Regions from separate parts of the Homo sapiens genome. Here regions 1, 2, 3, 4, 6 and 7 are each linked to region 5. The links are contacts of gene promoters, found by promoter capture Hi-C in blood cells and fetal thymus (Javierre and others, 2016). All regions are on one chromosome and are shown on one strand. Each heading gives the region's core, a stretch centred on a gene start or on the middle of the fragment in contact. The rest is flanking DNA. Distances are from core to core; before and after follow the strand shown. Region 1 has its middle 5.0 kb from the start of DUSP10. Region 2 overlaps LOC105372932 (a long non-coding RNA gene). Region 3 overlaps LOC105372932 (a long non-coding RNA gene). Region 4 overlaps LOC105372932 (a long non-coding RNA gene). Region 5 holds the start of HLX (H2.0 like homeobox). Region 6 has its middle 34 kb from the start of DUSP10. Region 7 overlaps DUSP10 (dual specificity phosphatase 10).

Evidence for each region. The method cuts DNA at HindIII sites, captures the fragments that hold promoters and counts their contacts. A CHiCAGO score of 5 or more calls a contact.
Region 1: a fragment that was not itself captured here is called in contact with the fragment with the promoter of HLX in region 5 in 1 of 17 cell types (neutrophils); the score reaches 9.2 in neutrophils.
Region 2: a contact is called between a fragment that was not itself captured here and the fragment with the promoter of HLX in region 5, in 3 of 17 cell types (total B cells, neutrophils and naive B cells). The highest score is 5.4, in total B cells.
Region 3: a contact is called between a fragment that was not itself captured here and the fragment with the promoter of HLX in region 5, in 1 of 17 cell types (endothelial precursors). The highest score is 6.6, in endothelial precursors.
Region 4: a fragment that was not itself captured here is called in contact with the fragment with the promoter of HLX in region 5 in 10 of 17 cell types (M2 macrophages, total B cells, endothelial precursors and 7 more); the score reaches 16.7 in M2 macrophages.
Region 6: a fragment that was not itself captured here is called in contact with the fragment with the promoter of HLX in region 5 in 1 of 17 cell types (total B cells); the score reaches 6.1 in total B cells.
Region 7: a fragment that was not itself captured here is called in contact with the fragment with the promoter of HLX in region 5 in 4 of 17 cell types (monocytes, M1 macrophages, M0 macrophages and 1 more); the score reaches 12.8 in monocytes.

The regions. Positions count from the first base shown.
Region 1 is chr1:221,745,398-221,748,732 of GRCh38, forward strand. No RefSeq gene overlaps it. Among named protein-coding and RNA genes, the nearest start is that of DUSP10, 5.0 kb to the left of the region's middle. The HindIII fragment of the contact is 4,022 bases long and covers 1-3,335 here.
Region 2 is chr1:221,450,367-221,453,503 of GRCh38, forward strand. The region is part of intron 3 of LOC105372932 (a long non-coding RNA gene); the gene reads left to right. Among named protein-coding and RNA genes, the nearest start is that of LINC02817, 120 kb to the left of the region's middle. The HindIII fragment of the contact is 2,553 bases long and covers 330-2,882 here.
Region 3 is chr1:221,410,720-221,414,232 of GRCh38, forward strand. The region is part of intron 3 of LOC105372932 (a long non-coding RNA gene); the gene reads left to right. Among named protein-coding and RNA genes, the nearest start is that of LINC02817, 76 kb to the left of the region's middle. The HindIII fragment of the contact is 2,091 bases long and covers 412-2,502 here.
Region 4 is chr1:221,427,779-221,431,198 of GRCh38, forward strand. The region is part of intron 3 of LOC105372932 (a long non-coding RNA gene); the gene reads left to right. Among named protein-coding and RNA genes, the nearest start is that of LINC02817, 93 kb to the left of the region's middle. The HindIII fragment of the contact is 492 bases long and covers 1,431-1,922 here.
Region 5 is chr1:220,877,612-220,881,118 of GRCh38, forward strand. It overlaps HLX (H2.0 like homeobox), which reads left to right and starts at 1,832. Exons shown (of 4, transcript NM_021958.4): 1 at 1,832-2,838. The coding sequence starts at 2,247. It overlaps HLX-AS1 (HLX antisense RNA 1), which reads right to left and starts at 2,529. Exons shown (of 3, transcript NR_046901.1): 1 at 2,238-2,529. RefSeq lists a silencer at 1,389-1,438 and an enhancer at 2,557-3,165. The HindIII fragment of the contact is 7,579 bases long and covers 390-3,507 here.
Region 6 is chr1:221,774,433-221,777,648 of GRCh38, forward strand. No RefSeq gene overlaps it. Among named protein-coding and RNA genes, the nearest start is that of DUSP10, 34 kb to the left of the region's middle. RefSeq lists an enhancer at 3,138-3,216. The HindIII fragment of the contact is 3,911 bases long and covers 1-3,216 here.
Region 7 is chr1:221,709,804-221,713,242 of GRCh38, forward strand. The region is part of intron 2 of DUSP10 (dual specificity phosphatase 10); the gene reads right to left. Among named protein-coding and RNA genes, the nearest start is that of DUSP10, 31 kb to the right of the region's middle. RefSeq lists an enhancer at 2,549-2,728. The HindIII fragment of the contact is 1,554 bases long and covers 1,172-2,725 here.

The DNA of each region.
Region 1 (3,335 bases), core at 327-2,826, 870 kb after region 5:
TGATTGTTTTATTATAGTTTCAAAGTAGTAGATTATTATAATTTAGTTGACTAAGAATCTAAGCCATCCAGGCTGAAACATTGGGAAAGATGGCAAAATTCCTTATCATATATCAAGCCTGAAATGTGGAATAATTACCAGATTATGAATATAAGCAAAGTTGTAGTTATTTTTTAAGTTAGGCATCTCTAAGTTTATATTCAAGTCATAAGACTGGTGAAAAAAATCAGATTATAGATGGAATTTTTTTCCATTCACTACTCTTCAGAACATCTTTTGGACAAGAAGAAGTGATTTTATTCCTGTTTTTGAGCGATAAATGTGAAAATACTACACTGAAATATAATGCCCTGAGACTTAAATTCGTAATGCTAGTCAGCCAATGGCTACAAATCTGATCTGTATATCAATAACCAGCAGCAGAGCGTTAATGTTAGTTTCAGTCCCAAAGAAAGAGTGAAGCATCTTCATTCAGTCTGGATGTTGTAACATGATTGTATTGAGCATATCTTTGTTCCCACAAACATCATAAGAAAAATATTGACTGTTTCAGCTGAAGTACTATGTATTAAAGTCAAAAGATGACAATAACTTAGGCCAACATATAAGATATAATATGGATAGTATTTAGCAAATGTATTAATTAAATTACTTCTTTTTTGTGCACTTAAATGGTTAAGTGTGTGGGGTAATGGCAGAAGGTGGGGCCTTCAAAATAATCCTCAAGGTCAAGATAGATTTCTGGAGGTACTAGAATTAAGGCAGAGAATGGCTTGGAGAAAACTTAAAAATCATCCAGGATAAAGATGATATTATACCAGAAGGAGTGGGGAATAAGCTGAGGAATAGGAAAGTGGCATGGTAAGTGTTTGAGGTCATTGAGACCAGCCTGGCAAAACATCCAGCAACACTCTCCAGGCCTAGGGAAGGGCTGATAAGAAGTGTTCCCTGAAGGAAGGAGCTGCTATGGTTTGAATGTTCCCCCAAAATACATGTTGAAACTTAATCACCAGTGTGACACTATTAAGAGATGAGGCCTTTTGGAGGTGGTTAAGTCATGAGGGCAGAGGCCTCATGGAAGGGATTAGGGCCATTACAAAAGGGCTTCAGGGAGTGAGTTAGTTTTCTTCCATTCCCCTGTGGGGACACAGCAACAAGGTGCTATCTTGAAATCAGAGATTGGACCCTCACCAGGCAGTGAACCTGCAGATGGCACCTTGATCTTGGACTTCCCAGCCTCCAGAACTCATGTGAGCAATAAATTTCTGTTCCTTACAACTTCCCCAGTCTCAGGTATTTTGTTATAGCGGCACAACTGGACTAAGACAGTGGCTACTGTAATGATGGAAACAGAGGCAGGGCCATGTGCTTGTCCCACTATCTATGAGTTTGGACACAAGAGGCCTGCAGTTCTTTCCTACAAAATTCATGGGCAGGTGTGCTTGTGACTCAGGAAAAGGCTCTGAGCCATTTAAGGCTCTATATCTGTATTTTCCAGTGTGGTGGTCATTTGACACATGTGTCGGCCACTCGAAGTGTGGCTAGTCTGAATTAAGATGTGCCATAAGATTAAAATACACATTGGATCTTGAAAACTTTATATACAAAGGGTAAAAGACATCAGTGCAAGTGGGAGGCAATAGAAATGGGAGCAGGGGTGAACTGGTGGAGCCTCTGTGACCACAATCTTGTCCTCCACACCTTCACACTTGACAGATGCAGATATAGCTATGGATAGATATATGTCTTATTCATGGGCTTCCAAAGTAAAATTTCAGTTAAAGAAAGGATCCTGGTTGGGATTTTTTTGTTGTGGTGGTTCTGGTTTTTTTGTTTGTTTGTTTTTTGTTTTTTTGTTTTTGAGATGGAGTCTTACTCTGCCGCCCAGGCTGGAGTGCAGTGGCATGATCTTGGCTCACTGCAACCCACGCCTCCTGAGATCAAGCAATTCTGCCTTAGCCTCCTGAGTAGCTGGGACTAGAAGGCATGCACCATCACGCCTAGCTAACTTTTGTATTTTTAGTAGAGACGGGGTTTCACCATGTTGGTCAGGCTAGTCTTGAACTCCTGACCCCATGATCCACCCACCTCGGCCTCCCAAAGTGCTGGGATTACAGGCGTGAGCCACCACGCCCATCCTCTGTTTTGTTTTTTAATCCTGTTTCTCTCTCTTTTTTTTTTTTTTTTTTCCTGTAAAGCAATTTCACTGGATGGCATGGCCAAAGCATGATTGATCTCAGACCTCTTTTCAAGGTTCACTCTGGCCTCTACTGATCACACAGAGGTGACTGGCTGGTTAGGGGAATTAATATGCTCCCTGTCTTCATTTAGGCAAGCAGATCCCTTTCAGTTTTTTCTTCCCCTTCACTGCTCCCCTATTTGTAACCCCACAAACATCTGCTGCTCTTTCTCAGAAGAGGATTTTGCCTCAGCCCAAGTGTGTGGACCATGGATGTAAACTTATTTTCTTTATGAAAATAACACACACAAAACATTCACTGGCCTTGGGTCTCCAACAATGCCCTCCTCTGTGGCGGATGGCCTGTTATTATTATGTGTTGCTACATCAAAGACTGTTAACATTTTCCCCTTCACTAAACTGAGCAATCATGTTTTATCATTACGATATGCTGTCAGCGCCAGTTTCTCAACCCCAGGAGGCTGGGTCCAACTGTGTTACTGAAGGATGCAAAGTTATAAGGTAAACATGCACGCAAAGCATTCATAAACCCCCTCAAGACTTGTTTCAGGTCTAACACTAAAGAATTAATCTAACGTTCTCAGCATCTCCTAGTAGGTTCAGACTGTACCACTTCTACATATAAGAAGTTCCTTTAGACAACAAAGTGCATCATAACGTACTTTATCTTTACAATTGAATATTAACTGAACTGATTTTAAAGATCTAGAATTTGGGAAAAAATAATCATAGGTAACATATTACTAAGTGTTTTGTTCTGTGCTAAGCACTGCTGTAAGTGATTTACATGCATTAACTCACTTAAATCCTCACAGCCACATCGATCTATAAGTAAGTACTTTTTTATTAGCTTAATTTAAAGATGAGAAAACAGAAATACAGATGGGGTAAATAATTTGCCCAAGGTCACAAAACTAGAAAGCAGCAGAGTCAACACTTAAACCCAGACAATCTGGCACCAGAGCATCTGCTTTTAACCATTTTGTGTTATTTCATTCACTCTTGTTGTGATTTTATAAACTTCTATCATGTCCCCCTCAGTCTCCAGACTGCAGTATATTTTTAATTGCCTGTTCATAAGAATTTGCTGTTTTTTTCTTTTGTTTTCTTCTGAACTTTTCTAAGTCCATCATGA
Region 2 (3,137 bases), core at 356-2,855, 570 kb after region 5:
AACTTTTCCTTTACCATCTTAAAATTTATTCAGGACCTGAAAAAGCTGTTGTTTGTGTTGGTTATATCTAAAAATATTGATGACATTAGAAATTAAAACTAAGAAAATTCTAAATTATGTACTTATTAATTTTAAAACAATTCTAAACACATTACATGTTAAGTAATGCCATTGTATTAAAAAGTTACATCTTCTAATACCAAAAATGTGAGAATGGCATGTTTCATAATTTTTGCAAATCTCTTTAATACCTGGTCTAATAAAAAACAAATAAATTCTCCTATGCTCTTTTGCATTCAATCTGTTGCTATATATTTTGGCTAACATAAAGCTTGCTTCAGACAGATACGTGGTTGAAAAAGAGGAGTCTTTTAATATCCCCTCAGATGGTTGTGTATAATCTTCTTTGATACTACACCAAAACTTGACAAGTAACAATGTCTCAAAGGTTAGTTTCAGTGTGGCAATGTGCATGAAATTTTTGTACTCTATTTCATTAAAATCCATTTTTTAAAATCTTGCACTTTAAACAAATCTTGTACCCATGTTGGATTGTGTAACATCATGCATTGGTCATATGGAAATTATTAGTTACCTTAGGCAAATATTGTAAATGTTATCATATTTCATTATACAACTTTAAAAAATTCTATTCATGAATATCTTCACTCATCTCATCAGAAAAAGCCTTTAAGCATTGGGAAGTCATCAAGCACACATTGGTAGATGTAAGTTTTCCAAAATTCTAATTTTCTCTTGAAAGCTCAGATTTTATTATTGGCAACAAATACTGTCAATGATTTCTTTGAAGTGATGGCCTCATTTCATCAATTTTCTAAAAACTTGTCTACCAAGTACTCAACTCTGAATAACTGCAGTTTGTCCGTTCTTTCAACTCCATCACACAGTTGCCTTTCTTTGAAATAACCATCATACTTCATTATGCTGCAGAAGTGCTTTATACATAGCTCTTAGTTTATTATCTATTTTAACAATTTGTATTTGAGGGTCAATATTTAATAAAATGTAATAATTTTTTACAACTTCATCAAGGATATTCCTTGTGAAACCTTCTCCACAGTACATTTTGGAAAATTTTCATCACACCAAAAAGAAATCCTGTAGCCTTTAATATTTACTGCCATTTTCTTGCAACCCCAAGCCCTAGACAACCAGTAATCTACTTTCTACCTCTATATGTTTGCCTATTCTGGACGTGTTATATAAATGGAATCATGTAGACTTTTGTGACTGGCTTTTTTCACTTAGCATAATGTTTTCAACTTTCATCTATGTTGTAGCCTGTATCAGTATTTCATTGCTTCTAATTGTTTAATAATATTCTATTATACGGATATGCCACATTTTATTTTTCCCTTCACCAGTTGATGGACATTTGGGTTGTTTCCACTTTTGGGATCTTATGAATAATGCTGCTATGAACCTTTGTGTAAAAGTTTTTGTGTGAACATATGTTTCCATTTCTCTCAGGTATATACCTAGGAGTAGAATTCCTGGGTCATATGGTAACTCTATGTTTAGCCTTGGGTGAACTGCCAAACTGATTGCCAAAGAGGCTATACCAATTTACACTGTGACCAGTAATATATGAGTGTTTGAATTTTTTACATTCTTAGCACCACTTGTCATTATGTCTTTTTGATGATAGACATCCTTGAGGGTGTGAAGTCACATCTAATTGGGATTTTGATTTGTATTTCTTTGATGGCTAATGATGTTGAGCATCTTTACACGTGTTTATTGACCATTTTCTTTGGAGAAATATCTATTCAGATTTTTAGCCCATTTGTTGCTGTTGTTGCTAAACTCTTATTTTTACTGGTAAATAATAGTTTTATATTTTATGTATAATAATCAAATTGGGGTAATTGGAATATCCATCAACTCAAACATTTATCATTTCTTTGTGTTGGAAACATTTCAAACCTCTTCTATTATAAAATATATAATACATTATTATTAACTATGACCACACTACTGTAGTATTAAACAGTGGAACTTATCTATCTAACTGTATGTTTGTACCTATTAGCCAGCCTCTCTTCATCTCCCATTGCCCCCAGTCCTTCTCAATCTGTAGTAACCATCATTATACTGTCTACTTCCATGAGATCAATTATTTTTGCTCCCAAATATGAGTGAGAACATGTAATATTTGTCTTTCCATGACTAGTTTAGTTCACTTAACATGATGACCACAGTTCCATCCATGTTGCTGCAAATGACAGGATTTCATTCTTTCTTATGGCTGAATAGTATTCCATTGTGTACAAATACTACGTTTTGTTTATCCATTCATTCACTGATGAACACATAGGTTAATTCCATATCTTGGCTATTGTGAATGATGCTGCAATAAACATGGGAGTGTGGATATCCCTTTGATATACTGACTTCCTTTCCTTTGAATAGATACCCAGTAGTGAGATTGCTGGATCATATGATAGTTTTTAGTTTTTTGACAAACCTGAATACCATTTTTCACAATGGCTGTACTAATTTACATTCTCATTAGCAGGGTTTAAGAGTTCCCTCATCTCCACATCTTTGCCAATATTTGTTACTTTTTGTCTTTGGTAATGGCCATTCTGAGGTGAGATGACATGCGTTTCTCTGATGTCAGTGATATTGAGCATTTTTTAATATGCTTGTTGGTCATTTTTTATGTGTTCTTTTGAAAAATGCCTATTCAGATTATTTGCCCACTTTTTAATGAGATTATTGTGATTATTATTTTCTGGTGAGTTGGGTTCCTTGTATACTCTGGATATTAGTTTCTGATTGAATGAGTAGTTTACAAATATTATCTCCCATTCTACAGGTTATCTCTTCACTCTTGATTATTTCCTTTGATGTGCAGAAGCTTCTTAGTTTAATATAGTCCTATTTGTGTATTTTTGTTTTCGTCGCCTATGTTATGTAAGACTTAGCTATAAAATCATTGCCTAGACCAAATTCCTGAAATGTTTCTCCTATGTTTTCTTCTAGTAGCTTTTTTCTGGGGGTTGGGGTGTGAGGAGAGGGTTTCAGTTTGTTGCCCAGGCTGGAGTGCAATGACACGATCTCGGCTCATTGCAACCTCTGCCTCACAGGTTCAAGTGATTCTCGTGCCTCAG
Region 3 (3,513 bases), core at 207-2,706, 530 kb after region 5:
ATGGGGGGATGTTAGTATTTACATCCTCCTCAGGGAGGATCCCCCTCATGGGAGGATCCAGCGCACACTAGGATAGAGAGTTACATGACAGCTATCGGTCTTACAAAATGTTTATTTGGGTCATAGGAGGAATGAATAAATAAATCATTGTTAACTTCTCCAGAGAAAACCATTACGTAACTCTAAGTATCCATTTTTAAATAGAAGTTGAGACTTCACCGTATATTGTCAGTTACTATCTAGTAGAATTTTATCCTTGGCACACGGACAATGCACATATTTTCTTTAAAAGCACTGTAACTAGAGGTCCCATATACCTCCTAGAATATACATGATGTGACTTCCTTTGAAAGGTGACCTGCTATTTTGACTAACGACCTTGCTAATATAAATATCATGGAGAGATTACTAAGCTTTTTTTTTTTTTTCGTTTCTTACAAGAAAAGAGATTTCTCTCTCTCTTCAGTTTAATGTGTTACCTGAAGTCACAGGGTATCTTGATGGAGCAGCCAACACCAGAACCTATATAATTGTACCTATGGGTGACTCTGCCTGACCTTCCCATCTCCATGGGCAGTTACATAGTCCTGGCATGCATCCAAAAATGGCATGGCAACAATCACCTTTGTTTTATTTTACTTTGTCATCAATGGTTAATATTTCCTGGCACATCAGAAAAGGATTACATCTGGATGCACAGGCTTCCTTCTCCTATTGATAGCCTTTGTGATTTGTCATAAGCTGTTGATCATTAAATAAGCATGTCTTTTAATCATGACCGGTCTGGGAACAGCTTAGACTAACAATCCTAAGAAAAATCCGCCACTCTTTCCTAAGTCAGGTTCCTTTCAATAGAACCATATTATGTTGGGCTTTGTTGTATTTCCTGCTTTGGCCCAATAACGGGGCTTTAGTGACCCTTGCTTGTTTTGAAGAAAGATGACAGATTTCCTGCAGCTCTTTCTACAAGCAGGCAGCTGCGGAAACATCACAGTAATAAACCAAACATATTCTGGGCACCCAGGAAAGCTCCTAAACACTCACTATCCTTTTATTCCTTGCTCTGGGGACTTTCTTCTGATATGATACGGGAGACATTTTCCACCCAAAGTTCTTGACCTTGCCATCAACCATGGTCATTCTCCTTTCTCAACCCTGTAGTTACGTAACTGTTGGGTTTTGTTCATTCAGATGTTGATTATTTGTCCCAGCCAGCCATTCAGAATGTACAGATTTGATCACAATTAGAGGTAACCTTGAAGATACAGACTGTACATTGATTACATAAATTTTAGACATGGTACTATGTCACTTAACTCAGGTAGAGATGAGATAAAACTATAGATCACATTTGTAAATTCATTTCCTATATTAATTATCAGTTGAAACAATTCTTATGGATATTTAGGAAATATGAAGCAAACTTTGAATATTTCACTTTTGCAAGAAGGACAGCCTCTCTCTCTAGCTACCTATTTTATTTTTTAGAATAAACTGGGGCCTGTCCAAGTAAATTACATTGCTTTTTTTCTGTTTTTGCATTGTAAATTAAAATATGTACAGAAAGACACAAAGCAAGCTGAAAGGCTCCCAGCTTCATCCATGGCCCTGCAAAGGACATGATCTTGTTCCTTTTTATGGCTGCATAGTATTCCATAGTGTCTATGTACCACATTTTCTTTATCCAGTCTATCATTGATGGGCATTTGGACTGATTCCATGTCGTTGCTATTGTGAATAGTGCTGCAATGAACATGTGTGTGCATGTATCTTTATAATAGAATGATTTATATTCTTTTGGGTATATACCCAGTAATGGGATTGGTGAGTCAAATAGTATTTCCAGTTCTAAATCCTTTAGGAATTGCCACACAAAACAAATGCAGGGTTTTATGAGTTACTACAAGGCAGAAATTCTTGTTACCATCACTCAGGTCAAGAGAGAAAATTTGTTAACACCTTAGAAGCCATTCCAACCATAATCCTCTCTGTCCAATTTTAATCACAAACTTGTATTTTCTTCTTCACTTTTGTGAATTTCTTTATACTTTTATTACTTCGGTGAACATCCCTGGGAGCTTCAGTTAGTCTGATCCACTTAAAGAAAACTGATACATCTTTTAAGTCTTCTCCTTTTATCCCTTTCTTTTCCTTATAATTTATCTGTTAAAGAAAAAAGGGCATTTGACCTGCATATTTCTCCACAGTCTTGATTTTGCTGATTGCCAACACAAAGTTCAGTTCAGCCTGCTCCTCTCTTCTCAGTATTGGCTGCAAACTGGATCAGATCAGACAGATCCTGCTTTGACTCAGTTTCTATCCATGTGTCAGGACTGTAGGCAGTGGTATGTTTTTACAATGGGAGACATTCGATATCTGGGTATCTCTCTTTTTGTGACGTTAACAGCCAATTTTGTTTGATGACTAGATCCCTTACTAATTTGGGGAATTGCAAATGGGGTCATCCTAATTCTATCATTAATTTTCATTTATGAGGTGGGAAGCTTTTATAGCACAACCTTCCCCTCATCTACGATTTGGTTGTCTACTGGTAACTTATCTTGATTCCACTTCCAGGCGTGTGTGTGTGTGTGTGTGTGTGTGTGTGTGTGTGTGTATCCATGTGGAAGGAAGTTCTGGGGGTTAGCTTTATGGATTTATTGGGGATTGACTGCTCCAGCCCCTTTAGGATACGCCACAGGCCTCTTCCTCTAATCCACACTTGTGCTGGACAATACCCCTCCTGGTGCTAACCCAGAACTGGCCCATGACACTTACCACTGCTCTGGCTACTCTGGGCTTCTTCTGGTTGTGGTTATTTCAGGTAACTCAAACACCAATGCAGGGCTTATGGGTGCTGGTATTTTGTCCTCAACCCCTTATAGTTTGAGAATTGTGGAGAAAAGCTGCTATCTAGTTTTATTTTTAGATATGAATATCATCCTTGCATTTTTCTTTTGCTATCTAGTTCTTCTTTCTTTTTCATGGTGGGGTTTGGAATGATTGGAAAGCAATGCAGCCAACACTGCTGACTCCTTCTAGAACCATATTTTAATTGGTTTCCTAGACATGAAGTGTAAGTCACATGCAAAAGTGTGTGTTGGGAGGGTTGGGAGGGGTGAAATTGTAAGAAGAGGTCCATTTCATCAAAAGTACCAGAACTCCAGTTTTTATTTTTTTTAAAATTGTCTAGCCAGGCATGGTAGCGCATGCTTGTAATCCCAGCTACTCAGGAGGCTGAGGCAGGAGAAACACTTGAACCTGGGAGGCGGAGGTTGTGGTGAGCCGAGATTATGCCATTGCACTTCAGCCTGGGGAACAAAAGCAAAACTCCGTCTTAAAAAAAAAAAAAATTGTCTCGTTTTCTAGATCTTACAAAGCTTGTAAGAACTGTTTCAGCCATAAATAAACCCCTGGCTTTGCTGTTGGACTCACCTGGGTTCAACCCTGGCTGTGCCATGGATTGACTCTGTGACCTTGGGAAAGTTAATTAAGTTATCTGAACCTCATCTG
Region 4 (3,420 bases), core at 427-2,926, 550 kb after region 5:
CAGGATGGTCTCGATCTCCTGACCTCGAGATCCACCTGCCTTGGCCTCCCAAAGTGCTGGGACTATAGGCATGAGCCACCATGCCCGGCCTGTTTTCTCTTTTTTAATGTAGGCATTTATTGCTATAAAATTTCCTGTTAGAACTACTTTTGCCACATCCTATATGGTTTGATATGTTGTGTTTTATTTTCATTTGTCTCTAGACATTTTCTAATTTCCCTTTTGATTTTTTTCTTTGATCCACTGCATATTTATGCATGTTATTTTTTACATATTTTTGAATTTTTCAGATCTCTTTCTGCTATTGATTTCTAGTTTCATTCTATCACAGTCAAAAAAATACTTATTTTAATCTTTTTAAATTTGTTAAGGCTTTTGCGACTTTATATGTGATTTATCCTGGAGGCTATTTCATTTGCAATTCAGAAGAATGTTTCTTCTGTTGCTGTTGAGTGAAATGTTCAGTATATGTCTATTAGGTCCAGTTGGGTTATAGTGCTGTTCAAGTTCTCTGTTTCCCTATTAATCTTCTGTCTGGATGTTCTCTCCATTATTGAAAGTAGAATATTAAATTTCTCTACTATTATTGTGTTGCTGTCTATTTCTCTCTCAGTTCTGTCAATGTGCGCTTTATTCATTTAGGTGTTCTGATGTTTGGTACATATATACTTATAATTGTTATGTTTCCTGGTGAACTGACTCTTTTGTCATTGTATTATATCCATGTTTTCTCTTGTGACACTTTTTGACTCAAAATCCATTTTGCCTAAAAAATTATGGCCACCATTGCTCGATTTTGCTTACCATTTTTATGAGATATATTTTCTTTTTATTTTTTCACTATTTTTAATCTAAACTGAGTCTCTTGCAGAGAGTATGTGACTATGTTTTTAAAAATTTTATCTATTTAGCCATTCTATGTTTTTTGTTTAGAGAGTTCAATTCATTTACATTTAATGTCATTATTGACAGGAACAGATTTACTATTGCCATTTAAAAATTATTTTCTATCTGTCCTATAGTTCTTTTGTTCCTACTTTTTTTCATTATCTTTATTTGTGTTTCATTGATTTTTGTAGTGATACACTTTGGTTCGTTTCTCATTTTCCTTTGTATACCTTCCATAGGTTTGTTTTTGTGGTTATCATGGGACTTACATAAAATAGCTTATAATTATAACAATGTGCCTTAAGCTGATGACAACATGAGTTCAGTTGCACACACAATTGCGTATTACTCCTCCTCTCCATACTTTGTTATTGATATACCAAATTGCATTTTTATTGTATCAATTAGCATATTTTTATAATTATAGTTATTTTTTATACTTTTGTCTTTTGACTTCTATACCAAAACTAAAAGTGATTTACACACAACTGTTATAGTATTATAGCATTTTGTATTTGTCTATATATTTACTTTTATCAGCAAGCTTCATACTTTCATATGCTTTGTCTTAATGTTTAGCATATTTTTTGTTCCAACTTGAAGGACTTCCTTTAGCATTTCTTATAAGTGAGGCCAAGTGGTGACAAATTTTCTTGCCTTTTATTTCTTTGAAAAAGTCATTATCTCTCTTTCATTTTTGACAAGTAATTTTGCTGAATATGACATTCTTAATTGGCGTTTAGTTGTCATTTTAGTACTTTGAATATATCATCCCACTTTGTTCTGGCCTGCAAAGTTCCTGCTAAGAAATCTGCTGATAGTCATATATTGCTCAATTGTATGTGATGAGTCACTCTTCTCTTGCTGCTTTCAAAATTATTTGTTTATTTTTGGCTTTTGACAATTTGGTTATAATATGTCTCAGTGCTGACTTCTTTGGATTCATCCTATTTGGGTTCCATTGGACTTCTTGAACCTGTTTGTCTATCTCCTGCACATATTTGGGACATGTTTGGCCATTATTTACTTAAGTAAGCTTTCTGTCCCTTTCTTCTTTTTTATGAAACTCTGATTACGAATATATATATTATACATTCGTAATATATAAATATATATGAGATATATATATATATATCTCTCTCAGGGAAACCATTCATAAGAATAATTTTCAAAGGAGACAGAGAAAAGGTTCCTCTCCATTTCATTCTAGCCAAAGTTAACCTAAGCATTTAGAAGTTTTGCTTCCAGGTTTGTACTGCTTTTATTTATTTCCCTATGTTTAATATATATATAGAGAGAGTATATACATTTATAGTGTGTGTGTATGTGTGTTTTGATAGTGTTCCCATAAGGCCCTTAGACTTTCTTCAGTCTTTTCCATTATTCTCTTTTCTTTTTGCTCTTCTTACTGGGTAATTTCAAATGTCTTCTAGTTCACTGATTTTTTATTCTGCTTAATCAAGCTTGCTGTTAAACACTGTTAACTGAAAAATCACAAAATTTATAAATTTAGAAAGGAGAGGAGACTTCATTTCTTGTGAAAGTTACAGCCTTCAAGGTCACTATCCACAGCTGGGAAGCATAGCACCTGGCAAATAACGGAGAAAGGCACTTTGAAGGAGCGGGGATTAGGGTAGGAGCCTTATGCTGAGTGCGTTGACTAACATACATATTCAACAGGTTACAGGAGGAGCTACAAATATTCAAGCAGGTGATTCTGACTCAACATCTCATTGCATTACAATTAGGGCTTATATTTCAAAAAGCGAAGAGGGACATGAAGGCACTTAAGTGCATAACCTCTAAACTGGCTAGAACAGGTCCACAGTTGGTAATCTTATCAGACAAATTAGTTTCTTGTCTAATTAAAGCTGTAGTTATGTATGACTTGTAGAACAGAGTGGTCAGTTAGTCAGTGGCTGGTGGTAGAAGAGCTGAAAGTTTTTTTTGAGATACTGCTTATCTCAAGACCAGTGTTTGTTTAGCTGCTAAAGAAAAAGAAAAATCTTGTGGCAGTTAGAACATAGTTTATTTTTTAAGTGTAGGGGATGCATGACTTAACTCTTGCCTGGCATGGCCTTGGGTCCTGTTTATAATTTGACATTTCATTGCCACAAAGAGTTTGTTTTGTCAGTCTTAGATCTCTATTTTAACATTAATGCTGGTCAGTCATTGTGTCTAAACTGCAAAAGAGAGGGTGTATAATAAGGCATGTCTGACCTCCTGTCCCATCATGGCTGGGAACTCAGTTTTTAAGATTTCTCTATAGTTTTTTTGGCCAAAATGGGGTCCATTCAGTTAGTGTGGGGTGGGGGCTTAGGATTCTAATTTTAGTTTACAATATTAGTTATTTTTTTCAGTTCATTTACAACATTCTTCAGCTCCAACACTTATTCTATTGTTTTTGTTTGTATCTTTTTGTTGAAATTCTTATTTTGCTCAGTCATTGTTTGTATGAGCTCATTGAGTATCTTTTAAAGTTTATTTTGAATTCTTTGTTGGGTAATTCATACACTTATTTATTTAGGGTTG
Region 5 (3,507 bases), core at 582-3,081:
AACTGGAAGTGGCACTAGAAAGCAGAGGGCTCACGGCCTCCGCTACGCACACTCCCACCGAAGGCTCACCAGAACCCTCAGCCAGCGCCTCAATTGCCCATGTTGTACTTGTCGCTCCTTTGCCTTCACCTTGACACAGAAAAACTGGTCTTAATACGTCTCTCGCCCCAGGTACCCCTACCTTCAGCCAAACACACCCATCTATCTCTGGAAATAGCACCTCTCTCCTGGTTGCGTGGAGCAGGGGAAGAAAACCTTTCAGTAAAAGAGAGATGGAGAGCGAGAGCGGGAGAGCTGGAGGGCGGGAGGAGGGAGAGAGAGAGGGAGAGGGAGAGATCTTAGTGCTGGCTGATCAGAAGTGATTGATAATTTTCCAGGAGAAAGTCAAAAGCTTAAAAGGATAGCATCTGCATCAAGGGGCTAGAGAAAACACCAGAAATTAATTTTATAAGCCCAAACCCTGAACTCGAGATAGGCATGGCAAGTTCACTTGCTTTTCTGGGTTTATTTGGTGAGGAGCCTTCGTGCTGAAGGGAAATAAAAATGTCACAGAATCCCTGTTAGGAGATGCTTATTAGGGCAATCGAAAACAAAAGTTTTCGTGGTTTCATTATTCGTATTATTTTATTTTCTTCCTGAAAATGTGCAAGAACAGCTCATCTGGGTGGCCTGTGGTTTGTTTGGGAGAGGGGTGGGGAAATTCATTCTGACTATAATTTAAAGAGAAGAAATTCTTAAAATAGATATGTCGATGTTGCACAAAACCTCCACCACCACTACCCTGCGTTCTAAAGACCCAAGGCACGAATGGAAGACGTTGACCACCACGCAGCTCCTCCTGCAACCAGGCCCAAGGGGTTCCTGGGGAAGCTGTCACAGAATTGAAAGCAGTATTGAACCCCACGGAAATCTGCTCTTGTGGGCACTTGCAAAACAACGAACCCCACGTGATCCGGAGATGTGGTGGAGGGGTGAGGCTAACATTTCCTACAACCTCCTGCAAAGGATGGAAGCGCGTGCCGCTCTCCCGGGTTTCGGGAGGCAGCCTGTTTTGTAGCCTCTGAGGCTCCGGGGAAAGGTTTGGCTGCGTCTAAGAGAGACGTTTGGAGCCATCCGTCTTATTTTGTTTGAAAAGTCACTCGTTCAATTTGTCACTGTGTGACAGCTCAGAATAAAACCAATTTGCGGCCGCCCCTCCTCCTCGCTTCCCGGAGGATCTCCTGGGAGGCACGAGGCGGACGCGGTGCTGAGTTGGGCCGGGACTCAGGGCGGCAACATTTGGGCAAGGGCCCAGGAAAGATGAGGGGCTTTGCCGAGGACACGGACTCCTGGAATAAAAGCAGAATGAGGTCAAGAGAAGGGAAGCAAAGGGGCCAAAGCGCGCTCCGCTCTCCACCGGGAGGCGGGCTTTGCAGAGCCCTAAAGAGTGAGATTACCGTCCCTTCCCCACGCCCCCAACTCGCCCCGGGTGACAAGCGCTTCAGGAAAGCTCCTGTGATCAACCCTCCTTGCCCCGTGGCGGTTCGGAGCTGCAGAAGTTAGAAGAGAGTCAGAGCCCTCCGGAGCGGCTGCCTGGCCCCTACGCAGAGTAGCAAGAAGCACTGCGATGTGCGCTACTAAGCCCACGCGGCCGCAGCAAAAACTTTGGCGTGGCCGGGGCGTGGCTAGGGTCCGGCCAGGCCCCCTTGTTCCTAATTCCCCTCCACTCCCCGCTCCCATTGGTCACGAGGATGACCAATGAGCGCTCGGATCGAGGTCCTACCCCGGGCCTGACTCGAAAGCTCCTGCCAAAACTTTGGGAGTTTTTAGAGACGAGTTTTTTTTTTTTTCTATTACTTTTCCCCCCCCCTAACTAACGGACTATTATTGTTGTTGTTTTAAATTTAGCTCTTAGGGCTTAGCTATTTGGGTTTTCTTGCGGTGTCCGGCTCCCGTCTCCCTGGCTCCCCCGCCCGCCCTGCGGCCCCAGCGCCCCTCGCTCTCATCCAGCCCGCGAGGAGTGCGGGCGCCGCGCCGCCTTTAAAGCGAGGCCAGGGAGCGAGGCGGTGACCGGCCGAGATCCGGCCCTCGCCTCCTCCCTCGGTGGCGCTAGGGCTCCCGGCCTCTCTTCCTCAGTGCGGGCGGAGAAGCGAAAGCGGATCGTCCTCGGCTGCCGCCGCCTTCTCCGGGACTCGCGCGCCCCTCCCCGCGCGCCCACCCACCCAGTCCGGCTGGACTGCGGCAGCCGCGCGGCTCACCCCGGCAGGATGTTCGCAGCCGGGCTGGCTCCCTTCTACGCCTCCAACTTCAGCCTCTGGTCGGCCGCTTACTGCTCCTCGGCCGGCCCAGGCGGCTGCTCCTTCCCCTTGGACCCCGCCGCCGTCAAAAAGCCCTCCTTCTGCATCGCAGACATTCTGCACGCCGGCGTGGGGGATCTGGGGGCGGCCCCGGAGGGCCTGGCAGGGGCCTCGGCCGCCGCCCTCACCGCGCACTTGGGCTCGGTTCACCCGCACGCCTCTTTCCAAGCGGCGGCCAGATCCCCGCTTCGACCCACCCCAGTGGTGGCGCCCTCCGAAGTCCCGGCTGGCTTCCCGCAGCGGCTGTCTCCGCTCTCAGCCGCCTACCACCACCATCACCCGCAACAACAACAGCAGCAGCAACAGCCGCAGCAGCAACAGCCTCCGCCTCCGCCCCGGGCTGGCGCCCTGCAGCCCCCGGCCTCGGGGACGCGAGTGGTTCCGAACCCCCACCACAGTGGCTCTGCCCCGGCCCCCTCCAGCAAAGACCTCAAATTTGGAATTGACCGCATTTTATCTGCAGAATTTGACCCAAAAGTCAAAGAAGGCAACACGCTGAGAGGTAGGTCTTGGGCGGGAGGCTGCAGGCCTCTGACCACTGACCCACTCCCCGGACCCCGGGCTGGCTTGGGGTGCCTTTGAGTGTTTTTACAATTAAGGACAAATCGGTAAAACGGGAGAGAAGAAAACGAATTGTAAGAAAACTACAAAACATTAGGTCTAAAACTCACCTGTTCTATGTAAAACAAACAAAAAATGACTCCAGGGATTCTTTAAAAACACGTCTTAGAATCAATATTTATAAAAGTGGTTGGTGTAATTATCTGCTAACATGACTTTGATCTCTTTAATAATGTATCTAGAGACAGAATTATATTTTCTGACAGCTAAAGCATTTTTGGGAAACACTTTCGCACTTATCTGATTTCTAGTAAAAATTTCACCCAGGAAATGTAAATAATAAACAAAACCGCCTAGATGAGCGGGCAGAGTGGGGCCACCTTGGGGCGGAGGTTTTGCGTCTGTGGCGTTCTTGGAAGACACGTGAAAGTGAGGCCGTAAGCCGATTTATGTAAAGCCTTTACTTACTATATACATGCATATGGACGTGAGGGACACACAGGAACTTTTCGTGCGTCGCTCCTTGGCAACTGTTGGGAGAGAGAGGTTTCAGCGCCTAGACGGGTTCTCTCTTGACTTCGCTCAATAAAAGTGAATCCAGGGCAAGGGG
Region 6 (3,216 bases), core at 141-2,640, 900 kb after region 5:
AATTCTTCTGAGGTTCCGAACTCAGTTGTCTTGTGTTCAAAGCCTATAGGCCCTGTTACTGCAGGTACGAGCCTGAGAACAATGAAGGGGCGCTTTCCGGAACTGCTGTGTGAGCTTAATGCTATCTCTGCCATTTCCTTGTACTCCTTTAGCAAATCCTGTGTAAATAGAAGTTTTATTTGAACAAAGGAGAGTGTCCAGGATTCTTCAGCTTTGCCTTCAGCTTTGCAGCTGGAGAAAGTAAAATCTATGGAGATAAAATTTAAGCCAATCAAACAGCAAGAACAAGCAAAAAGCTCTCTCCTTCTCCCTTTTATTTCTTGCTTTTCTTGGTGAGCTTGTTTCTCTCCCTGACTAGGAATAAAGGCCTCTCTTTGGGCACAGACAGCATCTTATTCATCTTTACATATCTCTTCCTGAGATACAGGCATAGTGTTCTTTATGTTACAGATACACACCACATGCTTATTAAACAAAAATTAAGTTGTGTACATAACTCTTATCACAATCCACTGATGCTATAAAACTAAGTTAAGTTCACCATCCAGGCTGGGCGTGGTGGCTCACACCTGTAATCTCAGAACTTTGGGAGGCCAAGGTGGGAGGATTGCTTGAGGTCAGGAGTTCAAGACCAGCCTGGGCAACATAGTGAGACCCCCATCTCTACCATAAAATAAAATAAAATAAAATAAAATAAAATAAAATAAAACGAAATAAAAATAAAAACTTCATCATCTCTTGGCTTTTATCTCCTTCTAAGGAGGTCCTCTGAACCTGCCCACTCCTCAAAATGACAACATGTTTGGTGTTTGGAACACAGAAATTAATCTTGTGCTTTTAAAATGTATAGTTAATGATTAAGGAAGCTCAGACTTAGCACAACTCAGGGTTTTCCCTATGATGCAAACCAAAAACGGCCAATTCAGTCAGTTCAAAGAAAAAATACTCCACCAAGTTGTTAGGTGCTTTCCATAAACATTACTGTGTACCAAAGGATTTCACCAAGTTGGTAATCGTGTTTAACAATCTTCCATTATAAATGCACCTAATAATTGGATAGAGAGTGGGAAAAAGACATTCGATTGACTATGTTTTGAAAATCTTGATATTTGATTGAATTGTATTGGTGGCATTGAGGAGTCAAAGGCTGCATCTTCTGGGTCTGTGGTCGACACCTTGGCTTCCCAAAATGAGGACGGCAGCTACACTGACATTGCTTGGGAGCTTCTTAGAATGCAGAATCTCAGTCTGTGTCCCAGACCCAAAGGTTAAGAATCTGCATTTTAGCAAGATCTCCAGGGGATCAGAATGTACACTGACATTTGAGAAGCACACAACTTAACCTCTAGCGCTTTGTATTTGGAAATATAGAGGCACCAGATTTCACCCCACAAATTTGAGCAGGCAGAGTTGGAGGAATGTCTCCCTGTAAAACAAAGTTAGAGGAGACAGTTTTGGGCACTGCCTAGCTTTGGAGCCCTGGGGAAAGCCATGGCCAAAGAAGATTATGAAAGCCACAGCCGAGAGTCAGTCTTTAAAAAAAAATAACAGCTTTCTTGAGATATAGTTTACATATATGATTCACTCTTTTATATTATACAACCCAGTGAGATTTTGTATATTCACAGAGTTGTGCCACCATCAAAAATTTTAAAACATTATTATCACCCCTAAAAGAAATCCGTACCCATTAGCCATCAGTTTCCAATACCCTCATCAACTCCCCACGCTGGGCAACCACTAATCTACTTTGCATCTATATACATTTGCCTAATCTGGCTTTTCGTCTAAACGGAATAATACATAATGTGGGCTTTTGTGACTGGCTTCTTTCACTTAAAATAATGTTTTCAGGGTTTTGCCATGTTGCAGCATGTGTCAGCTCTTCATACCTTTTGACAGCCCGATAATATTCCATTGCACGGATTATACATTTTGCTTATCCACTCGTCTATTGATGGACATCTGGATTGTTTCCAGTGTTTAACCATCATGAATAAAGATGCTATGCACATTGGTTTACAAATTTTAGGTGTGAACATAAATTTTTACTGGAGAAAGTTTTTTTTTTTTTCTTAAGTGAAAGCAAGTTTGTTAAGAAAGTAAAGGAATAAACAATGGCTACTCCATAGGCAGAGTAGCCCTGAGGGCTTCTGGTTGCCCGTTTTTATGGTTGTTTCCTGATTATAGGCTAAACAAGGAATGGATTATTCACAAGTCTTCCAGGAAAGAGGTGGACAATTCCCAGAACTGAGGGTTCCTCCCCATTTTAGATCATACAGGGTAACTTCCTGATGTTGCCATGGCATCTGTAATTTGTCATGGCGCTAGTGGGTGTGTAGCAGTGAGAACAACCTGAGACAGTTTTGACCCTTAAACAAAGTGGGTGATATGGCTGTCAGCAAGAGAAAGGCAGGTAGGCAGGACTTCTGGGAGGAACAGCCACCTGCTCAGGAAGAAACCCTTCCACCCCAGCTCTTCCACTACCTGTGCAACCACCAGCAAATCACGAGATATCTCAGATCCACGTCTGCAAAACGGACATAAATCTTAGCCACATTGACCTCACACTTCCTTTTTTTTTGTGTTTCATATGGGATAATTAGCATAAAGCTGTTTTCAAAGGAAAAATACTACACAAAGACCCAACAGGATAGTTGTTCTTATCACATCACTGTCATTTTGGCAATTCTTGAAATTGCCAGTACCTAGTGAGCTAATGACCTTCTCACTCAGAACCAGGGAAGGAGAATCACACTCAGGCCTTTCTCTCTGGTGCCTGAAAAGATTTTCAGTACAGTAGAGATGTGATCTCATTGTGACTCTCAGAAGCTGTGCTTAGGCTTTCAGTCAATAGGCAACCTCTTTGGGGATAAAAGAACCATCTTATTCACAATGGCTTGCTGTACAAAAAAAATTAGAATAAAAGAATTATTTAATTCGTTGATTTATTCACTACTTTTTAGCATTTATGATGTGCTCAGCAGTGAGTTGTGTGCTTATAGAGGGTGGTGGAATGAGCGGCGGTAATATAAGAAAGTACTTGAAATTTGATGCTGCTTTTAGGGGAAGCCAATGTGGCCACTTCTGCTTTCTTATTGACTATTGGAAATGTAGTACAGTACTAGTAATTGTACTCTGGAATGGGCCAGTGGAAGCCAATTCGGAAAAAGCGGTCCAAGGAAGACTATAATGCTTGGAAGGAGAAGGGGAAAA
Region 7 (3,439 bases), core at 699-3,198, 830 kb after region 5:
TTTTCCAGTTACTTTCCTCCGACCCTACCCCATCAAGTATCACCAGAGGCCAAAGTGACTGATCACTTAATGAGGAACCCTGATGATGTTATGTTTATTACTATTTAAGAATATTAGAACATGATAATTAACAAACAAAGCAGGAGCAGTGTAGCATGGAGGTTAAGAGCAAAGGTCAGAGACAAACCACACCTAGCTGCAGTTATGATTCTGCCTCCTAGCAGCTGTGAGACCCTGTGCAAGTCAGGTTCCCTCATTAAGCCTCAGTTTACCAATCTATTAAGTGGATGTAATATCATCTACCCATCAGGGTCATAGTTCAGGAAGCCTATGTAAAGGTTTTGATACACGACCAGGTATTCGATAAATAATGTCTTATTACCCCCAATATCATCACCTTTGTTCTAAATTCCAACAGATCTATGCACACGCATAGTCCATGAGAGCCCTAAGTGCAGTGCAGTGATTCAGAGAAGGAGTATTGAGGCTGGACTTCTTGGGTTTGAATCCCCAGCACAGCCAAACACTAGCTATGAGACCCTGGGCAGGTTTCTCACCTGTCTGTTCCTCAGTTTCCCTGTATACAAAACAGGGATAACAATAGTACCTACCTCACTGTACTGTTGTAATGATTAAAGTGGTTAATAAAGTACCTTAAAACAATGTCCAGCACATTGTAAGTGCTTTTTCTTTTCATCACTTTGGGAAACTACCATTTTAAAGATCTAAAAAAAAAAAAATCTGCTTAATATAAAGACTCTATATAAGTAAACTAATGTTCCTGAGTTTTTACTTTTAAAATTTTATTTAACAAAAAAGAATTAGGAACCAAGGTATCCGAGCAGTTTTAAAGTTTGCAAAACATACTTTTAACATAAAGAAAGCAACAGCTCCCTATTTTTCCTAAACAAATATATCTGATTTCACTTTGTTGGTCCTAGCTTTCCTAACAAACACTGTCTTTGCATTTCTGGTTTTTCCACAGAATTGGATTTTGAAAATAAAACTGTTCTTCCCTCCTTCTTCCTTTCCTCTAATTTCTACCAAGGTGGCTAACTTCCTTATGTGCACAAGAGCCTGCAGTTATTAGTGCGAACATATTGTAGCCATGAGCAACAATGCTGGGGTAGGGTGAGGCAAGGCGGGGTGGGGGGGCAGCAAACATTTTCAAAGCTTATGTCAAAAGTAGGTTCTCTGCCAAAATGAGTATGGTCAGTACATTGATTCTAAATGGCAGCAACAAAGAATACCTAGCACCCCTAAAGAACTATATGTGGAAATACTGCCTGCCAGTTTCTTCTAACACACGGTCAGTTCAGTGACAGTCCTACTGAAGCAATGGATTCTAGTTTTAGTGGGAAACTTCTCTTTATAGATGCATTTCAGCTCCTGTTGCTGTTTTGGCGACTGCAGTCCTAGAAACAGAAGAGTCCTCTGTAATGTGATTCAGAAGCAATGCGCTGGGTTGTGAGTTAAAGAAACCACATCCAAATGCAGAATCTATAAGCAAGAGATTTTTATACTCTAAAGGTGGACAGCCCTTTTTGGTCTTATGCTAAGCTAGAAAGTGAGCTGTTTCCAGAAATTTAAGGAACACTCTCACTGAAGGTCAGCAAACAGAAGTAATGTCCAAAGACCAGGGGGAGGGGTGTAGGCTAAAATTGGACTCTTCTACAGTTTGCTATAAGCATATTGATCACCCCTCTCTGTTGCCTAGTTTTTCTTACTGAGTAACCAGTCTTTTAAAGTAAAACAGTACCTTGATGATAGTGGTTAAGATCATAGACTGGAGCCAGATTGCTTGAGTTAAAACTCCTGACTCCTATCACTTACCTTGTAACCTTGAGCAAGTTATTGATGTCTCTGCATCTCAGTTTACATATCTGTGACTTGTAATATAATAATTTCTATCTCACAGAGCTCTCAATATGGATAAAATGCTACATGAGAGTTAGGTGTTTTATTATAAGTGGGAGAGACATTGCTGTAAGTTGCATACTATTTTGTTTATACCAGGAACAGATGGATGCTATGATATACTCCATGGAAACAGAACATCAGAGCCACTCAAGATTCTATAAGCACAAGAATCTGTGGAAGAACAAAGCCTGGATGAACTGGAGCTGATGTCAGGCTGCCAAGGCTGAAATCTTCTTCAAAGACAGGGTCAGAGTCACTTCATAAGTTTCAGGGCAGAATATCACCTATCTTAACAGGAGAAACATGTGGGGTGGTGGTGGGTACCAGCTCGATCCACAAAGATTATTTCTACTTCTTGTTTTCTATGAAATGTTCTTTATACTCCATAGATGTGATTGGGTATTTTACAGTAGGAATTGGGTATTTTACAGTAGGGTATTTTCAAGTTCAAGATGAAAATCATTCCTACTGTAAAATACCCAAGGAAGTATTACTTAAATTGTCTTAGGATCTTGCCCCCAGGGAACTTGTATTTCTTTCCCAAGAAGAGTAAAGGGAGGCCCTATCAAACAGAGGCAGAGAGAGTTGAATGGGAGTGCTGTCTCACTAGGTATAAGGTATGAAACAAGAGATAAAGAAGTATTTATCTTACTCAGGGGAAGAAAGAGATTTAGGAGGCTGACTATGAGTCAGAGAGAAGTCTTCTTATGATCACGTCATTTGACTGCTTCCCTCAAACCAGTGTGGTCTGGCTTACATGTGAGATGCCTTATGTTTGAAAAGACATAAACAAGGAAGTATCACAAGCTTAAAATACACACATATACATAAAACTTCAGATATACTCATATAACATAATGGGATCTTGAATCCCATTGAGTACCCATCCACATTATTTGGCTTGCTATATTATTAAGTCTTTTAGGAAGATATATCTAAAAATAAGTTAGTCCCTCCATTCATGGGTTTTTCCTGTGTGAAGGAGACACAGTTATCTACAGATATATCTTAAAAGCCAACTCTAGAAAAGACAGTGGATGATATATAAAGCAGCAAAAAAAAAAAAAAAAAAAAAAAGAGCTTTGCCTTGGATTTAGAATAGTGGGTCTGCCACATGCCAAGTGTGTGACTTTTTGAAAGTTATTGAAGTATTCTGGGCTATCTTTCCATAACTATAAAATAGGATACTACTACTTAGGTCTGTCGTAATGATTCAATGATTTTGTGTGTACAATAGCCATCCTGGTATTTTAAGAAGGCATTCAAACCCTGCAGCTATTTGAATGACTGTCAAATGGAGCAGCAAAGCTAACTAGCACTGGAGGTAGTCAGATGCAGGAAGATGACCAGAGACTACAGGGGTCAATGTCAGTGTTGCTAGAGATGAACTTTTGATGCTGGTACAGTTGCTTCAGAGCAGTAGGAAAAGGAGACCATCCTGCAGAGGCAACCCCATGCAAGGGCATCACCAGAGAGGGAGGACAAAGCAGGAGCCATGAGGACAGCCCACTGTAGCTCT